Regions from separate parts of the Homo sapiens genome. Here regions 1 and 3 are each linked to region 2. The links are contacts of gene promoters, found by promoter capture Hi-C in human tissues and cell types (Jung and others, 2019). All regions are on one chromosome and are shown on one strand. The core of a region is centred on a gene start or on the middle of the fragment in contact, and the rest is flanking DNA. Distances in the headings are between cores, read along the strand shown. Region 1 has its middle 180 kb from the start of CSNK1A1L. Region 2 holds the start of POSTN (periostin). Region 3 has its middle 53 kb from the start of CSNK1A1L.

Region 1 (3,398 bases), core at 400-2,899, 310 kb after region 2:
TTTCTAGTAATTTTCATAGCCAACATATTTTCAATGCAAAATGTGGAAACAATTGAAAATGAATTATTGTTGCCATTTTGAAATCTCTTGGAAAATGTAAACACACTTTAGGATGAGATTTTTCTCTTGTGTTTTTTATTTTCCTTGAAAATTACTTTATTTGTATGTAGCCGGAGTTGGGGTAGGATTAATTTTTAATGGCCATTTTAGTGGAAAGTCAAGGATTAAACACTGCTTTCTAAATGCTTATGTCGTGTTACCTCTTCATTGCTCTACCTACATCTCTTATTCTTATCCTCATCTGTACACATAGTCGACCTTAAAATGAGTTCTCAGACTCAGAGATTAATTTCATGAACTAAAGGAAGTCAGCCAAAGTGGAAAAGAGGAGTCAATTTCAGGTCTCTGATTCATTTTGGTCCACAAAGTCTGAGGTTTGAGTTGCCTCCAAACACCTGCACATAACTAGGAGAACAAAAATATGTTTTGTGACTCTCTAACCAACCACCTCTTAATGAAATGAATATTGTCATTTCCACAGGATAATTTTCATGGAAATGCACTTGGCTAAGCAATGGTGAATACATAAAGTCCAATTATTCACATACCATGCCTCTCTATTCATGAAGATAAATATATATCAGATTATGGAGATACCTATACAACCTGTCTTCTATAATAGTAGTAAACACCCAAGGGTGTTTAGAGTAACACTGAAAAGAAGTAAAACAAAAGGTACACAATCTATGGTCTAAGGCAGATTAAGTCAGGGCTCATCACCAGGCCACCATCCATCAACCCTCATTCTGACACCTATATCCAAGATAACCATTTGCAGCAAGTGATATACATAGGAGCTTGTGTTTTGCAAAAAGAATAAGAAAAGGGACTTTGTGACTGGAGTTTTATACTCTGAGAAGAGATAAATGGTAGGGATGCTATCATGTCTGTTCCAAACAGAACTACAGTTCTATGTTTCAGCCCGTATAATTAGTGGGATGAGGTCAAAAATTACTAAACTCTTCTCCATGAAAGATTCTGTAAGACATTGAGCCCAAGAAGAGGTTCTCTGGGCCTTTAATTTTATTTTAAATTGAGGGATAGTATTGGGAAAAGGCCATCCATGAAACCCTACAACATTTTGGCAACTCAAGGGCTATAGCTTGATGCAAAGTATTTTGGGGGGAGACATTTATCTTAAAGTAAATTAGTAAACCATGATGTGCAATGACAGTAATGAACCTTCTCAGGTAGCAGTTCTATGCACTTGGGAGCTAAAACATAAGAAGAAAAAGTCTGGGCCCAAAGGACAACCACATCTAGAGTGTGGACATTTTGAGACATCATTCTGGAAATATATGGAAATAACTGGGAGGTATTGAGATCCTGCTGTTATGCAGATAGAGGCGAACAAGTCAGCAGATATGTGGGTTAAATGTATAATAGGATTTTTTAAAGCTAATAAGTGAAAACATCCTTTTCCCTCCTAACTTTAGAAATGTTTGCGAGATTAAAGCAGGGTTAGGCAGAAGGAAAACAAAGATAGCTTTTATTACTGATGGATTCATGAATGTGGCTTCAGTGTTCAGTAATCACGAGCTTTCTAATACTGGATCCTCAAATTAAACAGAGTTACTCCAGTCACAGGCAATACTGAAGGCTGTAGATCTCTCCACTGGAATAGAAGGAAGGTCATAGATGAATATGTTCTCTCTGCAGGCTGACACTGATGAGATAAAAAGAATTAGGCTACATATGCAAAATTCCTCTTTCCAAACTCACGAGTAATCTTGGGAGCACTGAAGGAGAGAGTTGGATAAGCCACCAAGAGTCTTATACTTGTGGAATTCCTTCCACATGGAAAGACAAACTCTGTGGATAGGACCTTTCTCTCCACCGCCAGCAATGTGCAAAGAGCCTGGCACAGGGCCTATCATGTAACAGACTACAAAACAACCTACCGTGCTCCAGGCACTTACTTGCTAACAACATGAGTTGGATACCAAGAAATATTTGTCTTCCTTACTCCCAGAACACAGTATATACTGGATATTTGCTGAATTCTACTCTTCCTCCTTTTTCAAATGGTTAGAAGAAATATGCTTCTTAAAAGTAACAATTTGTAGTAAATAAGGCTATTTAGCAACTCTACAATTACAAAGGTGATGTGAAAAAGATTTCTACCTCCCAGTTGGATGATCCATGGAGGTAAGGACAGAGGAGCAATAGAGACCATATTCCAATTCAAAGTAACTATTATCAAGTGCTCACTGTGTCAAGCACTAAGCTAATACTTTCATAAATGATTGCATTTTTTTACAATTAAATACTTAACCACATCACAGGAAGAAAAATTGAGATGCAAGAGTGTTAAGTAACTTATTCAAGGAGTCATAAAAAAGAAGAGGTAGAATAATATTTTGAACTAAGTATGACCCAGACTCATTTCATTCCACTATATTGCACACAACATCAGCATATAGATATAAAGACAATTATAGCTTTTTAAAATGGATTTTGTGGGAAAAGCAAAAAAAAAAAAACTTGTGCTACTTTGAATCATACTATTAGGTAAGTTAAAATAATCTACTTAATATTATACCAGTTCTTCTAAAACTAGTTTTAAAGGATTTTTAAATCCTCAATGCATATTTTTAAAAAAACAATTTAAAAGACGAAGAGCTATATGGCCAATATATCAATAAATAGTCCTTGTTTCCCTTTAAATCATGCTGTATATGTTCTTCTTCAAACCCAAACCTTGGATAGTTACCAAAATTAGAGAAATTTTCCTTTACACTGCTCAGATACAGGATAACCCAGTGATCCCACTCTCTTGCAGGCATTTCACATGAGACATTTTAAACACAGGTGGAGATAATCTACGGATGCAAACCAACATAAAATCTGAAGTGGAAGAAAGCAGAGCCCCTCTTTTGTGAAGTGATAGCGCAGAGAAGCAGTACAGAGCGTCTAGAAGGAATATCAGGAACCTTTTGGCATAGCCTGCTTTGATTGTTCCCAGGAGCTTCCTTGGCTGTTCTGCACATTTCCTCTTAGCCTTATTTTCCACCACAACACTTCCCAGAGTGATTAGAAGCAAATAACAATGCCAGGCAAGTCCAAGTACACCGCAGATCCTCCCAAACAGTTGACACTTCCTGCTGCTTTCATTGGCAACTGCATAATGTAGCTTACTAGACAGATTTTAATTTGAGTTCTACTCATGCAATAATTTGAAATTTTTATTGATTCGTTTTCAAAATTATTTCTAGTTTCCTATTTAGAAAGAGCAAGTTATACTTTGGGTTAAGAGACAGAGGTTTTACATAGTGCTAGCCTTAAACATAAATGGAATAAGCCATAATCTGAAGAGTATTATTTGAGAGACATCCACA
Region 2 (3,716 bases), core at 761-3,260:
TATTAAGAAAGCAGGCAACATGGCAGGAAATTTTGATTCTTCCTTCACTCCTTGTATTCACAATCAGGTCTATCAGTTATCATTCCGGACTGTATTTAAAAATATATATTTTTTTACCCTTGATACTTATTACACAAGTCTATATCTCTTTCTCTGAGTACCTCATCCTTCACCTCCAGTCAAACCCTATTGGATTTGAGCAGATATCAGCTTCATTACAAAAAGGTCTGTAAGTAGTTACATCAGTCTAAAGATGAAAAGTGTGGCATTAGTAGCAGTGTAATCTATATTATAATGTCTAACTGGTCTAGAGTTGAAGACTTTTATATATCCATTTAACCAGGAATGTCCTAACAGCTAATTTAATAATATTGATAGTTTATCCGTCCTAATCAATAAGCAGTTACTGACCACCTGCCATTTGCACAACATAAGAGTAATAGAAAGCTATAATATAAAGCAAAAGATGACTTCATAAAGTCAGAATGATTCCATTCAGAGAAATGTAAATGATAGACTAAACTCTTCCTTCCACAAAGGACCAGGGTCAGAATATAATTTAACTTTTATGCTATCTCCTCTCCAGCTCTTCTTTTGAATTGCCCCTTCATTTTCTATAACTTAATCCCAAGATTTTCATATTGAAATGGCCTCTCGATCATATTTCAGCATTTGTGGTTTCACTGTGTGCTTTCTTAATAAACTAAGCAGCAAGTTGTAGAATATTTTAATATCCCATAGTGAGTTTAAGCATAACTCAGGATACTCAGAATCCTCTCTAGTTCAGTCCAGTTCCCCTAAAGCCTTCCCAATAGAACAACAAGGAGAATTCTGACAAAATCTCTCTACCTCACCAGTGGGAAAAGAACATGGATATGACATTACAGAGGGAGCATCTTGTAGCAAAATGGATTGGAATTACACTTTAGGATGGTGTGCAGCTTGTTTATTCAAGGAAGCTGATTGTGGTTACCATTTCAGCTCATTGTTTCCCTCTGATATTCAGATTTCTTTTATCCAAAGTTTTCTGAACATTTGACATATGCATGGAGTAGTAAGAACGCACATTCCTTTGGCTAGGGATTGCATAGTGTAACATTGAAAGGCTTTAGTTATTCTTGATAAAATCAGAAGAATCATTTTGGCAATGTCCATGTTTCCTAATATGTATTTAATTGTTCTAGTTATCTCTAGATTCGTAACACTTGCTTCCAATATTGGCTGCTTTTCACCAGTGGTTATCAGTAGATGTGCTGCATAGACATGTTCAACATCACATAAAGTGTGTCATGAAAAACAATAAAGCACAAATGTTTTTCCTTTCTGCTTCATTTCAAACCTTAGAGAAATTTGTCAGAGTAGATTTATGTTAACTCTATATGTTCCTTGATATTTGAAAAAGAAAGGAAATGAGAGGTAGCTCTCCTTTTTGTACGATAGCAAGGAAAATATGGACTCTCCTACATGGTTCTTCAGCAAGTTAGAATTCTTATTTCATATCTTACACAAGTTTTAAATCTATCCAGAGTTTGTTTTTAATCAACAGCCTTTACCCCCTTGTGATTGTCAGACTCGCATCTACCTTTGTTTTCTGGTAAAAATAATAATAATAATAATCTTTCAGTTCTGATGTGAACTGCAATAACACCTAACAATAATCTTGAGCACACAGACATTATACATTCTACTCTGGAAAGGATTGCAGAATATCTCTTAAAACTCAACAAAAGAATTTTTCTTAAAAACCCTCTAAGATACAAAGGAATAAAACTGAGACTTAAACATGCAGTGAGTCAATTGTTCATATGATTAAAAATAAGTACCTTCTTTATAATGAAAAGGAAAAGTAGCTCAATGTGTTCCTTAAATATAACTAACCAAAACAAATCTTAGCTGGCAATTTGAAGTTGCCGATGCTTCCTGGAAAGAGTTCAGACTCTCAGGTTGATGCAGTGTTCCCTCCCACAACTCTGACATGTATATAAATTCTGAGCTCTCCAAAGCCCACTGCCAGTTCTCTTCGGGGACTAACTGCAACGGAGAGACTCAAGATGATTCCCTTTTTACCCATGTTTTCTCTACTATTGCTGCTTATTGTTAACCCTATAAACGCCAACAATCATTATGACAAGATCTTGGCTCATAGTCGTATCAGGGGTCGGGACCAAGGGTAAGTGAGTGGTTTGGTTTTATAAACCATTTTTCTTTTTCCTCAGCTTGTTAGATGTTCAAGTATGCATAAAGTTTCTCATATATGCCTCAGGGTTTTTTTTCCTAATTATTATAAAGTAATAGGAAAAAAAGGAAAATGTGAGTATTCTGTGATTTATCTATGCACTTTTAAGCTTTAAGACTTAATTGCTCTCTAAATACCTTGAATATAATTGCTTTCTTATGAAATGTTATATAATTCTAATCTAATTAACACAATTTAGCTGGGCATTCTTTTATAATTCCATTTATTTATGTTTTTATTTTCTTCCAAAAATCTGAAATTGAGTTTTCAAAATTAAAAAATCTATTGTTAGGAACTATCATATGTATGCAAACAGCATTGAAATATCTCACATGATGTTAGAGAAAATTTTATTTAAATTACATATGAAGGTTAAATACTGGGTAATGTAACTAGTTCTCTGAATTCTTTGAAGCATTTAAGTTACTTTTAAACTCTGAATTCTGTAAAATTTGCAAAGGTAATTTATATTTTATAGAACTAATGCAACTACAACTAAGCATTTTTAAAATTACACATAATTTTGTAACTTATCCAACCATTTATAATTTTTTAAGCGGATCTTGGCACTTCTTCCTATGCCTCACAGGAATTTTCATAATGTTCACAAGCTTCTTTGACTTACAGTGAAAAAAGACTTCTGTCCCTTTAAGAGGGGAAGGGGAACCTTAAAATTGTGACAGAGGATGTTCTGATCTGTTACTTCCATTCAAAAAGATAAATTCTCCTTTGTGCAACCATATTGTTTCAAAGTTAATTTTAGCACATTTACTTCTGTGATTACTTACCTAGAAAATTACAGAGTATAGTGTCTGTGTACATAATAAACCTTGTCTCTTTTGCTCTCTGACCTCTCATTGTTCCAGAGAGCCCTGAAGTTATGGCCATCCTCCAAATGAGCACATGCTTGGTTTAAAAAGGGTCAGTAGATTATCTACCATTAAAAGTAATAAGGCACATAGAAATAAAATTACGTTCATACTGTTTGAATAGTCCTAGTTGGTTAACTTTTTGAAAAGCTTGTATTTTACTCTCAGAAATGTATAATTTTTCTCTCTCTCCCTGCCACCTCCTGTAGACTTTCGGTTTTTCAACAATTCAGTAGGATTGTGTCAATAATTAGATTTGTGCAAGGCTAGAATCATGTCTTTGGATATCAAATCCACATCTCAACATTTTCTTCTATCAACCAATCTTTAGATACGAAAAACTAGTCATTATTAGGACATTAACTTTTTTCCTTTCCCTCTATCCTCCAGCCCAAATGTCTGTGCCCTTCAACAGATTTTGGGCACCAAAAAGAAATACTTCAGCACTTGTAAGAACTGGTATAAAAAGTCCATCTGTGGACAGAAAACGTAAGTCTCTTTTTTTTTTCATAATATGTCAGTTCCAAAAACAACATCATGATGTATATGCCTTCCCCTGGGTGTACACACCATTCTTCTTGAAAATACTGACCAAAATTGTGAGAGTTATT
Region 3 (3,773 bases), core at 317-2,816, 440 kb after region 2:
CGAAAAGACAGCCACACAAAACAGTGGGGGACTTTAACACCCTACTCACAGCATTAGATAAATCATTAAGGGAGAAAACTAACAAAGAAATTTTGGACTTAAATTCAATACCTGACAAATTAGACCTAATAGACATCTACAGAATATCCAATCCAACAAACACAGAATATACATTCTTCTCATTTGCACACAGAATATACTCTAAGATTGACCACATGCTCAGCCATAAAGCAAGTATCAACAAATTCAAAAAACTGAAAGCATACCAACCATACTCTCAGAATACAGTGGAGTAAAAACAGAAATCAATACCAAGAATATCTCTCATACCACACAAATATATGGAAATTAAACAACTTACTCCTGAATAACATTTGGGTAAATAATGAAATTAAGGCAGACACCAGGAAAATTATTTGAAATAAATGAAAACAGAACTACAAAATACAAACATCTATGGAATGCAGCAAAAGCAGTATTAAGAGGGAAGTTCATAGCACTAAATTCCTAACTCAAAATGTAGAATGATCTCAAATTAGCAATCTGAAATTACACCTAGAGGAACTAGGAACAAAAGAAACAAAGTCCAAATCTAACAGGAAAAAAAGAAATAACTGAAATCTGAGTAGAAGTGAACAAAACTGAGCCCCAAAAATTCATACAAAGGATCAATGAAGCCAAAAGTTATTTGAAAGGCTAAACATGATCAATAGACTACTTGCTAGATTAACAGAAAAAGAAGATTCAAATAAGCACAATCACAAACAACAAAGGCAACATTACAACTGATTCCACAAAAATACAAGAGATGCTCATAGACTATTATGAACACCCCTATGCACAAAAACTAGAAAATCTAGAGGAAATTGATTAATTCCTGTAAATACACAATCTCCAAGATTGAATCAGGAAAAAATTGAAACCCTGAGCAGACCAATATAGAGTTCCAAAACCAAATCAGTAATAAAAAACATAATCACCTAAAAAAAAACCTGGATCAGATGTATTCACAGCCAAATTCTACCAGATGTTCAACCTAGAGCCAGCACCAATTCTACTGAAACTATTCCAAAAAATCATGGAGGAGAGATGCCTCCCTCACTCCTTGTGATACCAAAGCCCTCATCATCTTGATACCAAAACCCTTATCATCCTGGTACCAAAACCTGGCAAAGACACAATAAAAAAAAAGAAAGCTACAGGCCAAGAGCCCTGATGAACATAGATGCAAAAATCCTCAACAAAATGCTAGCAAACTAAATCCATCAGCACATAAAAAAGTTAATTCACCACAATCAAGCAGTCTTTATCCCTGGGATTCAAGATTGGTTCAACATATGCAAATCAATAAATATGATTCTTCACATAGACGGAATTAAAAACAAAAAAAGTGATCATTTCAAAGGACACAGATAAAGCTTCTGCTAAAATCCAACATCCCTTCATTATAAAATCCTCAAGAAACTAGGCATTGAAGGAACATATCTCAAAATAATAAGAACCATCTGTGAAAAACCCACAGCAAACATCATACTGAATGGGCAAAAACTAAAACCATTTCCCTTGAGAACTGGAACAAGACAAGGATGCCCAGTCTCACCACTCCTATTCAACATACTACTGGACATAGTACTATGTCAACCAACATAGCGGTAGACATACTAGGTACTACCAACATAGTATATTTCTTCTTTTCCTATCTGGATGCCTTTTATTTCTTTCTCTTGAGAAAGAAATAAAAGGCATCCAGATAGCAAAAGAAGAAATCAAACTATCTCTCTGTGCTGACAATATAATTCTATACCTAAAAACCCCTAAAGACTTTGCCAAAAGGCTCCTGGAACTCAAAAATGACTTCAATAGTTTCAGGATACAAAATAAATGTACAAAAATCAGTAGCAGTTCTATACACCAACAACATTCAAGCTGAGAACCAAATTAAAAATGCAATCCTATTTACAATAGCCACAAAAAAAAAAACTACCTAGGAATACATCTAATCAAGGAGATGAAAGATCTCTACAAGGAAACACTGCTGAAAGATGTCATAGATGACTCAAACAAATGGTAAAATATTTCATGCTTACATGTTGCAACAATCACTATCATTAAAATGGCCATACTGCCCTAAGCAATCTATAGATTTGATGCTATTCCTATCAAACTATCAATGTCCTTTTTCACAGAACTAGAAAAAAAAAAAAAACTATTCTAAAATTCACATGGAACCAAAAAAGAGCCCAGATAGATGAAGCAATCCTAAGCAAAAAACTTAGGACTACCATTTGACCCAGCAACCCCATTACTGGGTATATATATCCAAAAGAAAATAAACCATTCTTCCCAAAAGACACATGCACTCGAATGTTCATTGCAGCACTCTTCATAATAGCAAAGACATGGAATAAACCTTGTTGTCCAACAGCGGATTGGATAAAGAAAATGTGATACGTATACGGCATGGAATACCATGCACTCATAAAAAAGAATGAAATCATGTCCTCTGCAGAAACATGAATGCAGCTGGAGGCCATTAACGCAGGAAAGGAAACCAAACGCTGCATGGTCACATATAAGCGGGATCTAAACACTGGGTGCTCATGGACATAAAGATGACAACATTAGACATTGCAGACTACTAGAGAGGGGAAGGAGGGGCACAAGGGTTGAAAAATTAACTATTGGTACTGTGCTCTGTACCTGGGTGGCAGAACCAACCATACCCTGAACTTCAGCATCACGCAATATACCCAGATAACAAACCTGCACATGTACCACCTATATCTAAAGCTGAAATTATTAAAAATTTAATAAATAAATTAAATAGTCAATATCAAAGAAACAGAAAGTAGAAAGGTGGCTGCCAAGGGCTTAGAGAGGAGAAATTGGTGTTTAATGGGCACAGAGTTTCAGTTTTACAAAATGAAAAAGTGTAGGAATCTGTTACACGACAATGAATATACTTACAACTAGTGAACTGTATACTCAAAAATGTTTAAGCTGGTAAATTTTATGTAATGTGATAGTAACCACAATTAAAAACAAAATTGCCTATAATCCCAGCTACTCAGGCAGCTGAGGCAGGAGGATCACTTTTGCCCAGTAGTTCAAGACTGCCATGAGCCATGATGGCACCACATAGCACCATTGTTAGAGATACTGGGGAAAATTAATTCTTTAAAAAGAAAAGTGTTAAGAGTCACTCAGACCACCTTAAGAAAAAAGGAGCTTATTATAAAAATATGAAAGGCTATACTCCAGCCTGGTGGGAGATTGAGACCCCATCTGTAAAAAAAACTTTAAATGATAATATAAAATTGAAATATTTTTTTAAACTTCATAGAACAGTCTATATCAAAATTAAAGATTTCAGTTCAATGGTGACCAGCTTAAACAAAGCTGAAAGGTCATGACAAACTAAGAAAAGAAATGCAATTTTTAAAACCCACAAGGGATTAATATTTAAAGCATACAAAAATTTTTGCAAATCAAAAAGAAAAAGAAAGCCCAATAGAAAATGAGGATATGAATTAGCAATTTACAGAATATGAAGCTTTAATGCTAAATACCTAAAGTTAATGAATGAATGCCCTAATTTAGTAATCAGCTACATGTGACTCAGTTATGAGACAGCACTTTATTCTGTTAGAATGGCTAAAGTTAAAAAATATTGATGGTACCAACTGAGAACAAAAGGAAATTAAAACTCATATTCCACAGCCATTCTTAAGAACAATCTGGCAGAATGTTGTAAAATTACTCAATAAAATTGT

Evidence for each region. The method cuts DNA at HindIII sites, captures the fragments that hold promoters and counts their contacts. A contact is called where the count stands out against the background at its distance.
Region 1: a fragment that was not itself captured here is called in contact with the fragment with the promoter of POSTN in region 2 in 1 of the 25 tissues and cell types used here (dorsolateral prefrontal cortex).
Region 3: a contact is called between a fragment that was not itself captured here and the fragment with the promoter of POSTN in region 2, in 1 of the 25 tissues and cell types used here (dorsolateral prefrontal cortex).

What each region holds. Positions count from the first base shown.
Region 1 is chr13:37,287,921-37,291,318 of GRCh38, reverse strand. No RefSeq gene overlaps it. Among named protein-coding and RNA genes, the nearest start is that of CSNK1A1L, 180 kb to the right of the region's middle. The HindIII fragment of the contact is 4,884 bases long and covers 1-3,398 here.
Region 2 is chr13:37,597,062-37,600,777 of GRCh38, reverse strand. It overlaps POSTN (periostin), which reads left to right and starts at 2,010. Exons shown (of 23, transcript NM_006475.3): 1 at 2,010-2,170; 2 at 3,496-3,594. The coding sequence starts at 2,052. The HindIII fragment of the contact is 6,079 bases long and covers 1-2,596 here.
Region 3 is chr13:37,156,453-37,160,225 of GRCh38, reverse strand. No RefSeq gene overlaps it. Among named protein-coding and RNA genes, the nearest start is that of CSNK1A1L, 53 kb to the right of the region's middle. The HindIII fragment of the contact is 4,524 bases long and covers 1-3,773 here.